Regions from separate parts of the Homo sapiens genome. Here region 1 is linked to region 2. The links are contacts of gene promoters, found by promoter capture Hi-C in blood cells and fetal thymus (Javierre and others, 2016). All regions are on one chromosome and are shown on one strand. The core of a region is centred on a gene start or on the middle of the fragment in contact, and the rest is flanking DNA. Distances in the headings are between cores, read along the strand shown.

What was found. Contacts are between HindIII fragments. The CHiCAGO score rates a contact against its expected background, and 5 or more counts as called.
Region 1: a fragment that was not itself captured here is called in contact with the fragment with the promoter of KAT5 in region 2 in 1 of 17 cell types (activated CD4 T cells); the score reaches 5.4 in activated CD4 T cells.

The regions. Positions count from the first base shown.
Region 1 is chr11:66,130,910-66,136,967 of GRCh38, reverse strand. All of the region lies in intron 1 of PACS1 (phosphofurin acidic cluster sorting protein 1), which reads right to left. Among named protein-coding and RNA genes, the nearest start is that of PACS1, 64 kb to the right of the region's middle. RefSeq lists a silencer at 1,063-1,112. The HindIII fragment of the contact is 212 bases long and covers 1,498-1,709 here.
Region 2 is chr11:65,707,421-65,713,548 of GRCh38, reverse strand. It overlaps KAT5 (lysine acetyltransferase 5), which reads right to left and starts at 1,297. Exons shown (of 13, transcript NM_182710.3): 1 at 1,104-1,297; 2 at 715-783; 3 at 491-627; 4 at 46-201. The coding sequence starts at 1,281. RefSeq lists silencers at 972-1,051, 1,062-1,251 and enhancers at 1,282-1,591, 1,622-1,741. The HindIII fragment of the contact is 6,423 bases long and covers 742-6,128 here.

The sequences.
Region 1 (6,058 bases), core at 354-2,853, 420 kb before region 2:
AAGAAGAAAAAAGCCCAACAAGCCAAGAGAAAAGTGGGCAATGCTGAGGCTGGAGAGCCTACGGAGGCCGGGCACTGTCCTCCAATAGCTGAAGACCACTTCTGTGGGAGTGAAAAAACTGAGTCATTCATTTCTACAAATGGTTAAATCAGGACTTAGGGTGGAAATTCCCATGAGTTAAGTTTTAGCCGAACATAGAGAACTTATTAATAATTCGGGCAGTCCATACAATGGAATGGGCCTGCTTAAAAAACTGCTGAATTCTTGTTCAGTGGAAGCACTCGGGCCAAGGCTAGATGAGGGTCAACTTGTATGAAGTTTTTTGGAAGGCATGAGATGGGAAACTAAACTGCACGATTACTGAGGGTGCTTAAAACCCTAAAATTATGCAATTCTATTCAAAGACTACATCCGCTCTGGAAAAGATAGGAGAATAAATCAAATAATGATGGGCTATCACAGCTCCATAAAGACTGAAAGCCATGGTGCTCATCACTCCTAGCTTTTTATTCTAAGTAGGGTGTTCTCTGGAGTGGGGATGTTAGAGGATATGAAGGTTTTGTTAAATCATAACTCCTGCACTCAGGAATATTTTGGTTTGTTTTGGTTTTTGGTGTGTGTGTGTGTGTGTGTGTGTGTGTGTGACAGTGGGATTGGGCAGTCCTGTTTCACATTCTTGGCGTGTGTGTGTGTGTGTGTGTGTGTTAGCGGGATTGGGCAGTCCTGTTTCACATTCCTCTCCTGGGCTCCCCAAACACTGAAAGCAACAGCACAATTTTGAAAGAGAGTGAATTAGTGCTGGAGGGTTGAGTGTGAGGTCTCAGCAGCATAGCCACATAACCCGTAGGACGTACTTACGTATCTACGTCATTTACGACAGTCCAATTATGAGCTAAAAGTCACAGACAAATCAGTAGCTCAATAATTCAACTGACAGGTGGACAGTGTTTCAGAAGCTAGTCTGGAAGGCACGTGGGCAGAATCTGAAACCACGTTAAGAGGAGCGCAGGAGGCTGGGTGTAGTGGCTCACGCCTGTAATCCCAGCACTTTGGGAGGCCAAGTGGGGTGGATCACTTGAGGTCAGGAGTTCGAGACCAGCCTGGCCAACATGGTGAAACCCCGTCTCTACTAAAAATACAAAAATTAGCCAGGCATGGTGGTAGGCACCTGTAATCCCAGCTACTCGGGAGGCTGAGACAGAAGAATTGCTTGAACCCAGGAGGTGGAGGTTGCACTGAGTTGAGATTGCACCACTGCACTCTAGCCTGGGTGACAGAGCAAGGCTCTGTCTCAAAAAAAAAAAAAAAGCGCAGGAGAGGAGGCCAGCAGGGATGAGGGCAGGCCTCAGGCAGCCATGGTACATGCTGAACCTGTGCACAGTGTGTCTGGGTGACAGTGCTGGCATGTTTTCCACACAGAAAATCGCTCTGTAATACTAGTAATTTATCAACTAAAGTTAAAATGAAGAACTTTCATTTATCTTGAGTTCTAAAGCTTAAGCCAAAGCAATTTTAGTTGGAGAAAGCTGAGGAGCTAACAAAAACCCATAAAGATTCTGAAGGGCGTGCCTTACCTATCTCAGAGCTCGTGAAGATGGCAACCATGAGTCCTTAGCGTGGCTTCTAATTTCTCTTCAAAATCAAGGGCTTCCTTTCTTTTTGATATGGACACACCACTAAGTACTCTTTAGCCATTACCAGGACAAGCTTTTAGTTCAAAATATAATGAAAAGAATGAGTGGTGAGAAGAAATAAGATTTTTTTTTTTGAGATGGAGTCTATCTCTATTGCCCAGGCTGGAGTGCAGCGATGTGACCTCAGCTCACTGCAACCTCCACATCCCGGGTTCAAGCCATCCTCCTGCCTCAGACTCCCAAGTAGCTGGAGTAGCACCACACCTGGCTAATTTTTGTATTTTTAGTAGAGACAGGGTTTCACCATGATGGCCAGGCTGGTCTCGAACTCCTGACCTCAGGTGATCCACCTACCTCAGCCTCCCAAAATGCTGGGATTACAGGCGTGAGCCACTGCACTTGGCTGAAATAAGATATTTTTGAGGTAAGAGAGCAATAAATAAGGAAGAAACAAGAAACCCAAAGAGGAGATAAGAAGGATTATCTCCGGCATAATTATCTAAGATTCAAGACAGAATAAAAGTGAGTAATTGCTGGGGAGTGAAGGGAATCCCCAGTGATAGTGAGAAAAAGATGACACCGTGACCAAGTTTCTACACTGGCCATCAGGGGGCACCATCGGTCAGAACAACGCCCTGGCGCCAGGGTACAGGGAGCCCTACCCAACTGGACTTCCATATGTACAGGCTGCTCCCACTTTGGGAACACATACTAAACTATAAGCCATTGGAAATGCTTTTACAGCCAGATTAAGAGAGAAAAAAAAATACATCAAAAACAAACACAAACCCATCTGTCCCTATATTTGTACATCCAAATCAGAAATGGCAACGATACGTAGCGTGTCATTTGGATCCTAGAAGTAGGGAGGGCCAGAGAAAGCTGAAGAAATTTCATCACCTAGCCAGGTGTAGTGGCAGGCACCTGTAGGTCCCAGCTACTAGGGAGGCTGAGGCACAAGAATCACTTGAACCTGGGAGGCAGAGGTTGCAGTGAGCCGAGCGAGATTGCTCCACTGCACTCCAGCTTGGGGGACAGAGCGAGACTCCGTCTCAAAAAAAAAAAAAAAAAAAAAAAAAGAAAAAGAAAAAGAAAAAGAAATTTAATCACCGAGTCCCTGTTACTGAAACTCAGCCGGCCTCACAACAGTCGAGGGCAGCAGCACAGTGGGGCAGTGGACTCCGCACAAGGGGATGGTGGGGAATTACGCTAATGGGGATTTCAGGGAGCACAGAGAGGAACCTGGAACAATGACAATGTGATCAATGCCTCAGGAATAGGCATTTCATGCTTATGTTAGAGCTAGGTTCTCATATCTTTAAGAAATTAGAATAAACATGGGGTATATATCACAGGCATCTGAAGAAGGAAGTCAACAACTTGCCCAGTATCACACTTAGCCAGGACAAGTATCTGTCTGGCTTGCTAATCCAGTTTCTTTCCATTAGATATTTTTATAAATAATTAAATTTGTGATGGGAAAAAAAAGAAGAAAGCATTGCTTTAAGGTACATTTAACAAAAAAGTCTGGCTGGGCGCAGTGGCTCACACCTGTAATCCCAGCACTTTGGGGGGTTGAGATAGGAGGATCGCTTGAGGCCAGAAGTTTCAGACCAGTCTGACCGACAGATGTGGAACTCCATCTCTACAAAAAAATTGAAAAGTTAGCTGGGTGTAGTGGTGTGTGCCTATAGTTCCTGCTACCCTGGAGGACAGCTTGAACACAGGAATCGGAGGCTGCAGTGAGCTATGATAGCGCCACCCCAGCCTGGGCATGGTCTTCAGACTCAGACCTGCTGGCAGGCAAAAATCTTTCAATGACATCTCTGGATCTACATCAGGTTATAAACCACGGACATTATCAGCTGTTCCAGTGACCTGCATCGAGGTTGGCAAGATCCTTTGCCCCAAGCATCTGTGCACAGTGATGCCTCCAGCAGCCACTAGTGAAGCCAAGGAGCAGAACATAGGAAAAAAACTCAGCTCCTCCATCTGGCAGCATATGGCTAGCCAGACCTAGTGCTCTATCTTGCAAAACTAGCTATAAAGCTGAGGTGAGAGTCTTTAATGAATAAATGCAACAAATAAACTCTGCAAAGCAGAGTAATAATGGCTATACGAAGACAGGTGACACGGGTTAGAGTAGCAGCAGGAGGCCATAAAGTGCCCAGGACAGATTCCAGAAATTTTCTGGAGTCAGAATGTATAGAACTTGCTGATAGATTGCACACACAGAGCATGAAAAAGAAGCAAAGATGACTCCGGGGTTTTTGGCTTGAGCAACAGGGTGGAAGGCAGCACCATTTACAGTCGGCCCTCTGTACCCACAGGTTCCATATCCATGGATCAAAAATATTTAGGAAAAAAGCCAGGTGCCATGGCTCACTTCTGTAATCCCAGCACTTTGGGAGGCCAAGGCAGGGAGATCACTTGAGGTCACGAGTTCGAGACCAGCCTGGCCAACATGGTGAAACTCCGTCTCTACTAAAAATACAAAATTAGCTGGGCGTGGTGGCATGTGCCTGTAATCCCAGCTAATCAGCAGACTAAGGCATGAGAATTGCTTGAACCTGGGAGGCGGAGGTTGCAGTGAGCAGAGATCCCACCACTGCACTCTAGCCTGGGCAAGAGAGTAAAACTCCATCTCAAGAAGTATGTACCTATATGTATATTTAGGGGGAAAAAAAGGCTGGTTGCATCTATACTGAACATGTACAGACTTTTTTTTTCTTGTTTATTCCCTAAATAATACAGTATAACAACAATTTACATAGCATTTACATTGTATTAACTATTATAAGTATTCAAGAGATTAAAGTACGAGGGAGGATGTGTGTAGGTTATATGCAAATACAGTGTCACTATATAAGGAACTTAAGCATCTGTGGATTTTGGTATCTGTATTAATCCGTTTTCACACTGCTATAAAGATACTACATGAGACTGGGTAATTTATAAAGGAAAGGGTTTTAATTGACTCGCAGTTCCACAAGGTAGGGGAGGCCTCAGGAAACTCACAATCATCGTGAAGGGGAAGCAAGCATGGACTGTCTCACATGGTGGCAGGAGACAGAGGTGTGTGAGAGCGCAGGAAAAAAGCACCATTTATAAAACCATCAGATCTTGTGAGAATTCATTCACTGTCACAAGAACAGCATGGAAGAAACCGCCCCCATAATCCAGTCACTTGCCATCAGGTTCCTCCCTTAACACTCAGGGATTACAATTCAAGATGAGATTTGAGTGGGGACACACAGCTAACCTATATCAGTATCCATTGTGGAGGGCTGCTCGTGGAACCAATCCCCCAGAGATACCAAGGGACAAGTGTACTTAGATGAATAAAGATTGGGAGAGGAACAGATTTTTTTTTTTTAATGAGGAAGGGATAAAATAAGTTTTAGCAATGCTAAGTTTGAGATATCTGTTAGATATTTAGGTGGGGCTATCAGGTAGACAGTGAGTATACAAATTTAGAGATCAGAGAAAAAATCAAACTGGAGATGTAAATTTGAGACACATATAAACCTAATTAGAAGAAAATACAGGATAATGCCTTTTTTTTTTACATAGAGATGGAGTCTTGCTATGTTGCCCAGGCTGGTCTCGAACTCCTGGCTTCAAGCAATCCTTCCACCTTGGCCTCCCAAAGTGCTGGGATTACAGTCATGAGCCACCACGCCTGGCCCAGAAAAGATTTCTTAAGTAAGACATCAAAAAGCACAAATCTTTATAAATGGAAAAACCAAAGGAAATGTCTAAATTAAAACAAAAGATTTCTGCTGAATAAAGGACACCACAAACAAAGTTAGCAGGTAGATGAGGGACAGAAGAAGACATCTGAAACATTTATAACTGCCTTAGGATTAATAGCTACAATATATAAGAAACTCTACTGGAAAAATGGGAAAATGATATGACCAGGTCATTCATAAAAGGAAAATCCAAAGACTACCCAGTATATACAGAAATCTAGCCATGCTCATTAGTAATCAGAGAAATGTGAGTTTAAAAAGATATTAATAACATGTGAAACCTGCCAAACTCACAAAAGTTTTAAAGTCAAATACTAAGGACTGCACTTAGTAGTGGAAATACAAATTAAGCAATCATGCATTACTTAGTGAAATTAAATATGATTATACTCTGTGACCCAACAATGATACTTGTTGGTATTTAGCCAGAGAAACTCTTGTACAAGTTCGTAAGAAGACATATATGAGGATCTTCTTATTAATTTATTTAGTTTTATCTTTTTTTTTGAGACAGTCTCACTCTGTTGCCCAGGCTGGAGTGCAGTGGTGGCACAATCAAGGCTCACTGCAGCCTGAACGTCCTGGGCTCAAGCGATCCTCCCACCCCAGTCTCTCAAGTAGCTGGGACCACAGGCACATGCCACTGTGCTCAACTAAGTTTTTAATTTC
Region 2 (6,128 bases), core at 48-2,547:
TGGGACCTGAGAAGAAAGCAAGGTCCCTGGAATTGCTGAGGGTACCGTTGAGCGGTGGTTGGGCTGCAGGCAGGAGCTGGAGGAGAGCGGCTGGTCAGGCTCGCCACCGGGAATGGCCTCCCGCTCCTTGGGCAGGTTGAAGCGGAGTGTGATCTGGACCGGGATTGGCAAGGTCTTCCCGCTGGCCTGCGCCGAGGCCGGCTGTAGAGATAGGTCCAGGGTCTTCCTTTGGGGCGGGGATGGCAGTGGGATGGGGAAGGGGAAGAGGGGTCCCTCACCTCAAAATTATCAAACCCCACCCTCGCCTTCTGAAGGACACAGGACTAGCTACTGGACTCTGGGAGCTACATGTGCAATTTGGCCCCCATCCTTTGCAAGATGAAGTCAGGGTGAGAGGGAGCCGCCTCCTGCCCATCCAGGAGCTCCTAATGCCAACAGACAAGAGAAATAGGAGGCAGGAGAGAAAAGGTGAAGTGGGGGACCTACTCACCACCTCTCTCTCTGGAGAGCCAGGACGGGACCCAGGAAGTCCGTTCTTAGTGGGGGTCTTGGCCTCTTTCTTGGGGAACTGGATCTTCTTTAGGTCCAGCCGCTCATGCGTCACCCATTCATCCAGACGTTTGTTGACTGTAGCAGTGGGGATGGCTCAGGACAGAATGCCAAAGACTGTCCCCCAACCCTACCCTGATGCCCCACCTCAGGCCCAGAACTCACAGTCAATGTAATGGACGTAGAAAAGCTTCCGGCCACTGATGTCCTTCACGCTCAGGATCTCGGCCAGGGCTATGAGAATAGCATAGACAGGGGCCTTAGACAGGCCAGGCTATGAGACTCCACCCTTCCACGACCTGAACTCCACCCCCAGGCCGGATCCCTAAGCTCCAGCACTTAGGTCTCTCCTAAGCCTCCTTCAGTCACAAGTGCCACCCCTTTCCAGGCCCCGCCCTGTACCTCTCGGAGCAGCTAAGAGCCACGCCCCTTCATCAAAGTATCTGCGCCTCGCCCGCCCCATAATTCCAGACGCCCCTCCCCATCCCGGGATTTCAGTTGACTCCCGCCCCTCGCCCTCAGGTTCCTTAGTCCCGCCCCCCAACGTCACTCACGCCACTCATCTTCGTTGTCCTGGTTCCGCCGCAGCACGGGTAGGCGGCAGCCCTCGATTATCTCCCCCTGGGGAGACAGCGCGACGCCAGGGTCGGCTACTGGGGGGCCTCGGGCTCTACCCACCTCCCCTGGCTCCCTCCGCCCCGCCCCGGGCACCGGACTCACCACCTCCGCCATCTTCCCTCCCTCCACTGCCACTTCCGGCCCCTCTGGGAGACGTCACTTCCGGGACCGAGCGCCCTGTGGGCCCGGGCCTCACGAAGCCCCTGTAGAGGGGGACCTTTGAGAGACACCGCGACCCAGCTGCGAGGGGCAAGACTGCCCCTGTGACTCGGGGGAAAACGGAGTGTTACAAGCCTCAGGCCGAGCCCTAGGTGGAAACCCCATAACGTGCACAGCCAGTGGCGGTCTACTGAGTCCGTCACGTGACGCCCACCGGGTGCGAAGCTGGTCACGTGTATGCGGAGCGGGTCACGTGGCAATACCGTTTTTGGCTTTGTCGGAGGGAAGTCCTCGGGCGTCTCCTTGTGGCGGCGGGAGGTGTTGCCGGGAGTCAACTGGGCGCGAGAGGCTGGAGAAAGGAAGTGGCCTTAGAAGGGTTCGAACGCTCCCCCAAGTCTGTGGACTTCATTCCGTAGGCAAGAGGACTCAGGGAAGATTCCTAGCTTTATTTTGTATATTAGGCTTTTTTAATTTGTATATATTTATTTTTGAGACGGAGTCTCGCTCTGTCGCCAGGCTGGAGTGCAGTGGCGCGATCTCAGCTCCCTGTAACCCCCGCCTCCCGGGTTCAAGCGATTCTCCTGCCTCAGCCTCCCGAGTACCCAACTAATTTTTGTATTTTTAGTACGGGCGGGGTTTCACCATGTTGGCCAGGATGGTCTAGAGCTCTTGACCTCGTGATCCGCCCGCCTCGGCCTCACAAAGTACTGGGATTACAGGCGTGAGCCACCGCCCTCAGCCATATTAGGCTTTTTTTTTTTTTTTTTTTTTTTTTGAGACAAGGTCTGGCTCTCTCGCCCGGGCTGGAGTGCAGCCAGCGAGGCACAATCTCCGCTCACTGCAGCCTCCCCCTCCCGGGATCAAGTGATCCACCTCAGGCTCTCTAGTAGCTGGGACTACAGGCGCGCACCACCAAGCCTGGCTAGTTTTTTAAAATTTTTGTGTAAACAGGGTTTGGAGACTGGGCATGGTGGCTCACACCTGTAATCCCAGCTGCCTCCAGTCTAATCATGAGAAAAACATCAGACAAATCCCAATTGAGAAACATTTTACAAAATACCCCATGAATACTCCTCAAAACTGTGAAGGTGTCACCGGTGGAGGGTGTACAGGTTCTTGGCATCTAAAATAATGGGACAAAACGGCTGGGCGCGGTGGCTCACGCCTATAATCCCAGCACTTTGGGAGGCCGAGGCGGGCGGATCACGAGGTCAGGAGATTGAGACCATCCTGGCCAACACGGTGAAACCCTGTCTCTACTAAAAATAAATACAAAAAATTAGCTGGGCGTGGTGGCAGGCGCCTGTAGTCCCAGCTACTCGGGAGGCAGAGGCAGGAGAGTGGCGTGAACCCGGGAGGCAGAGCTTGCAGTGAGCCGAGATTGCGCCACTGCACTCCAGACAGAGCAAGACTCTGTCTCAAAGAAAAAGAAAAAAAAAAAGAATTGGACAAAATGCACAAAGCAAGGAAGGAATGAACGATTTATTGAAAATGAAAGTACACTCCAGTGTTGGGGCCGGCTGAGCATAGGTGCTCAAGGGCCCAGTTACAGAATTTGTTGGAGTTTAAATACCCTTTGGAGGATTCCATTGGTTATTTGGGATATGCCATATGTAAATGAAGAGGATGAAGTAAAGTTACAAAGTCATTTAGGGTGTACTCCCTAAGGAGAGGATATTTCCTGTCATAACTGAAGTGTGAATCAGCCTTATATGTTCCCTGCCTCCAGACCCTATTTTCCTGCCTCAAAGGTGGCTGAACATGGTGGCTTACGCCTATAATCCCAGTGTTACAGGAAAGGGGTCCCCATCCAGACCCCAAGAGAGGGTTCTTGGATCTCGTGCAATAAAGAATTCAGGGCGAGTCCAGCACTTTGGGAGGCCAGGCAGGTGGATAACCTGAGGTCAGGAGTTCGAGACCAGCCTGACCAACATGATGAAACCCCATCTCTACTAAAAATACAAAAATTAGGCAGGCGTGGTGGTGCGCGCCTGTAATCCCAGCTACTCGGGAGGCTGAGGCTGGAGAATTGCTTGAACCCAGGAGGCGGAGGTTGCAGTGAGCCAAGATCAGGCCACTGCACTCCAGCCTGGGAACAGAACAAGACTCCGTCTCAAAAAAAAAAAAAAAGAATTGAGGGCGAGGCCATAAAGTGAAAGCAAGTTTGTTAGGAAAGTAAAGGAACTCAATGCTGGTTGCCCATTTTTCTGGTTATTTCTTGATGATCTGCTAAGCAAGGGGCGGATTATTCATGCCTCCCCTTTTTAGACCATATTCGGTAACTTCCTGCCGTTGCCATGGCACTGGTAGGAGTGCAGCAGTGAGGACAACCAGAGGTCACTCTGGTGGCCGTCTTGGTTTTGGTGGGTTTTAGTTGGCTTTCTTACTGCAACCTGTTTTATCAGCAAGGTCTTTATGACCTGTATCTTGTACCGACCTATCTTATCTTGTGACTTAGAATGTCTTAACCGTCTGGGAATGCAGCCTAGTAGGTCTCGGCCTCATTTTACCCAGCTTCTATTCAAGATAGAGTTGCTCTGGTTCATGCAACTCTGACACCGAGGCAGGCGGACAACTTGAGGTCAGGCGTTCAAGACCAGCCTGGCCAACATGGTAAAACACCGTCTCTACTAAAAATACAAAAGTTAGCTGGGCACGGTGGCATCCGCCTGTAATCCCAGCTACTCAGTCAGCCAAGATCGTGCCACTGCACTCCAGCCTGGGCAACAGAACAAGACTGTGTCTCAGAAGGAAAAAAAAGAGGCCGTGCGCAGTGGCTCGCTCCTGTAATCCCAGCACTTTGGGAGGTCAAGGCAGGAGTTCGAGACCAGCCTGGCCAATATAGTGAAACCACATCTCTACTAAAAATACAAAAATTAGCTGGGCGTGGTGGCATCTGCCTGTAGTCCTAGCTATTCAGGAGGCTGAGGCGGGAGAATCGCTTGAACCCAGGAGGCAGAGGTTGCAGTGAGCCAAGATTGTGCCAGTGCACTCCAGCCTGGGCAACAGACAGAGACTCCATCTCAAAAAATAAATAAAATAAAATAAAGAAAGAAAAGAAAAAGATGTTGCTCAGGCTGGCCTCAAACTCCTGCCTGCAATCCGCCTGCCTCAGCCTCCCAAAGTGCTAGGGCCACCGCACCCTGCCATTGTTTTGTATATTAGGTTTCTTTTTTTTTTGGTCCAGTGGCTCACGGCTGTGATCCAAACACTGGGAGGCTGAGGTGGGAGGATCGCTTGAGCCCAGGAGTTACAGACCAGCCTCGGCAACAGAGCGAGACTCTGTCTCTACAAAATTTTTTTTTTTTAATTAGCCAGGCGTGGCGGTGGCCCTCGCTTGTGTTCCCAGCTACTCAGGAGGCAGAGGAGGGAGGATCGCTTGAGCCTAGGAGTTCCAGGCTGCAGTGAGCCGACCACTGCACTCCACCCTGAGTGACAGACAGACCCTGTCTCAAAATAAATAAAGACCTCTTGCCCTTAGGGCGCTTACATTTTTGGAGTTTGGGAGAGAAGAGGACAGGTATAGATTGTCCACCCTCAGCAATGTCACCATCCCTGCTGGGCCACATGCAAAGTGGATAGCAAAGAGAAAGACAGGACTCACCCTTCTACGTTAGCTCAGAGTTTTGGCTGGAAGGGTGTTACAAAAGTGTTTGCTTGAGAAAACTAGCGCCTCCTCAGACTGAGTCATCTTCAAAATAGCACTTGCTTTCCATTCTAAATGTCACCAGCACAGAGGACCCCAACTCCATTTTGCCATTTTCAGCAGAGTTTGCAGAATTCACGGAGACACATGGGTTGCTTTATCATAGGGACAATCATGGTAACACCTAGAGATGATGCACTTGGGGGTCGGGCATGGTATTCAGCACATGATGGGCATCCAAAAATCAATAGGTCTTCTTAACCACTAATAGTGTGCTTAAAGATTTTCAAATATCCTTCTTATGCCCATTGTTGCAAAAACGCAACATGTCTGATAGTGCTCTGCCCCCATCCCCCACATCCCTGATCAAGGTATCTCACACATATACCTGCAACTTTGTTTGGGGCTTCCCCTGGCTGCAGGAGTACGTCCAGCCTATGCATCTGGAAGGCCAGAAGTGTGACGAGTTAACACCTCCTGAAGCAACTCTCAGCCAATGCCTGATGGGAGTTGGAGGGTAAACTCCCTTGTCTGTGGGGTGAGACCACTCTGAGGGAGGGCTGACTTTTAAATTTAAAATGTTTTTAGATACATTTCATATATATTTTTCTATAAATGCATATATAGTCTTGATGGTTAATTTTAAGTATAGACTGGGTTATGGGGTACCCAGATAATTGATTAAACATTATTCCTGGGTGTGTCTTTGGGGTGTTTTCAGATGATATTAGCATTTGAATGGATAGATTGAGGAAAGCAGAGGACCCTCCCCAGTGCAGGTGAGCATCATAGTCAGAGACTGAATAGCACAAAAAGGTGAAGGAAGAGAGCGTTTTCTCTCTCTGTCTGACTGCTGGAGCTAGGACACCAATCTCCTAACCTCAGACTGGAACTTACACCTCCAGCTTTCCTGGGTCTCCAGCTACAGACAACAGATTGTGGGACTCCCCAGCCTCAGCCGCCATGATTGCATGGACCAGTTTCATATATGTCTCTCTCTCTCTCTCCATATATATCTATATAAAATCTCCCATTGCTTCTGTTTCTCTGAACTCTGATGAATATATGGTCATAATACATGTTTGTTTTTGAGACGGGGTCTCATTCTGTTGCTCAGGCTGGGGTGCAGTGGTGCCATCTTGGCTCACTGAAGCCT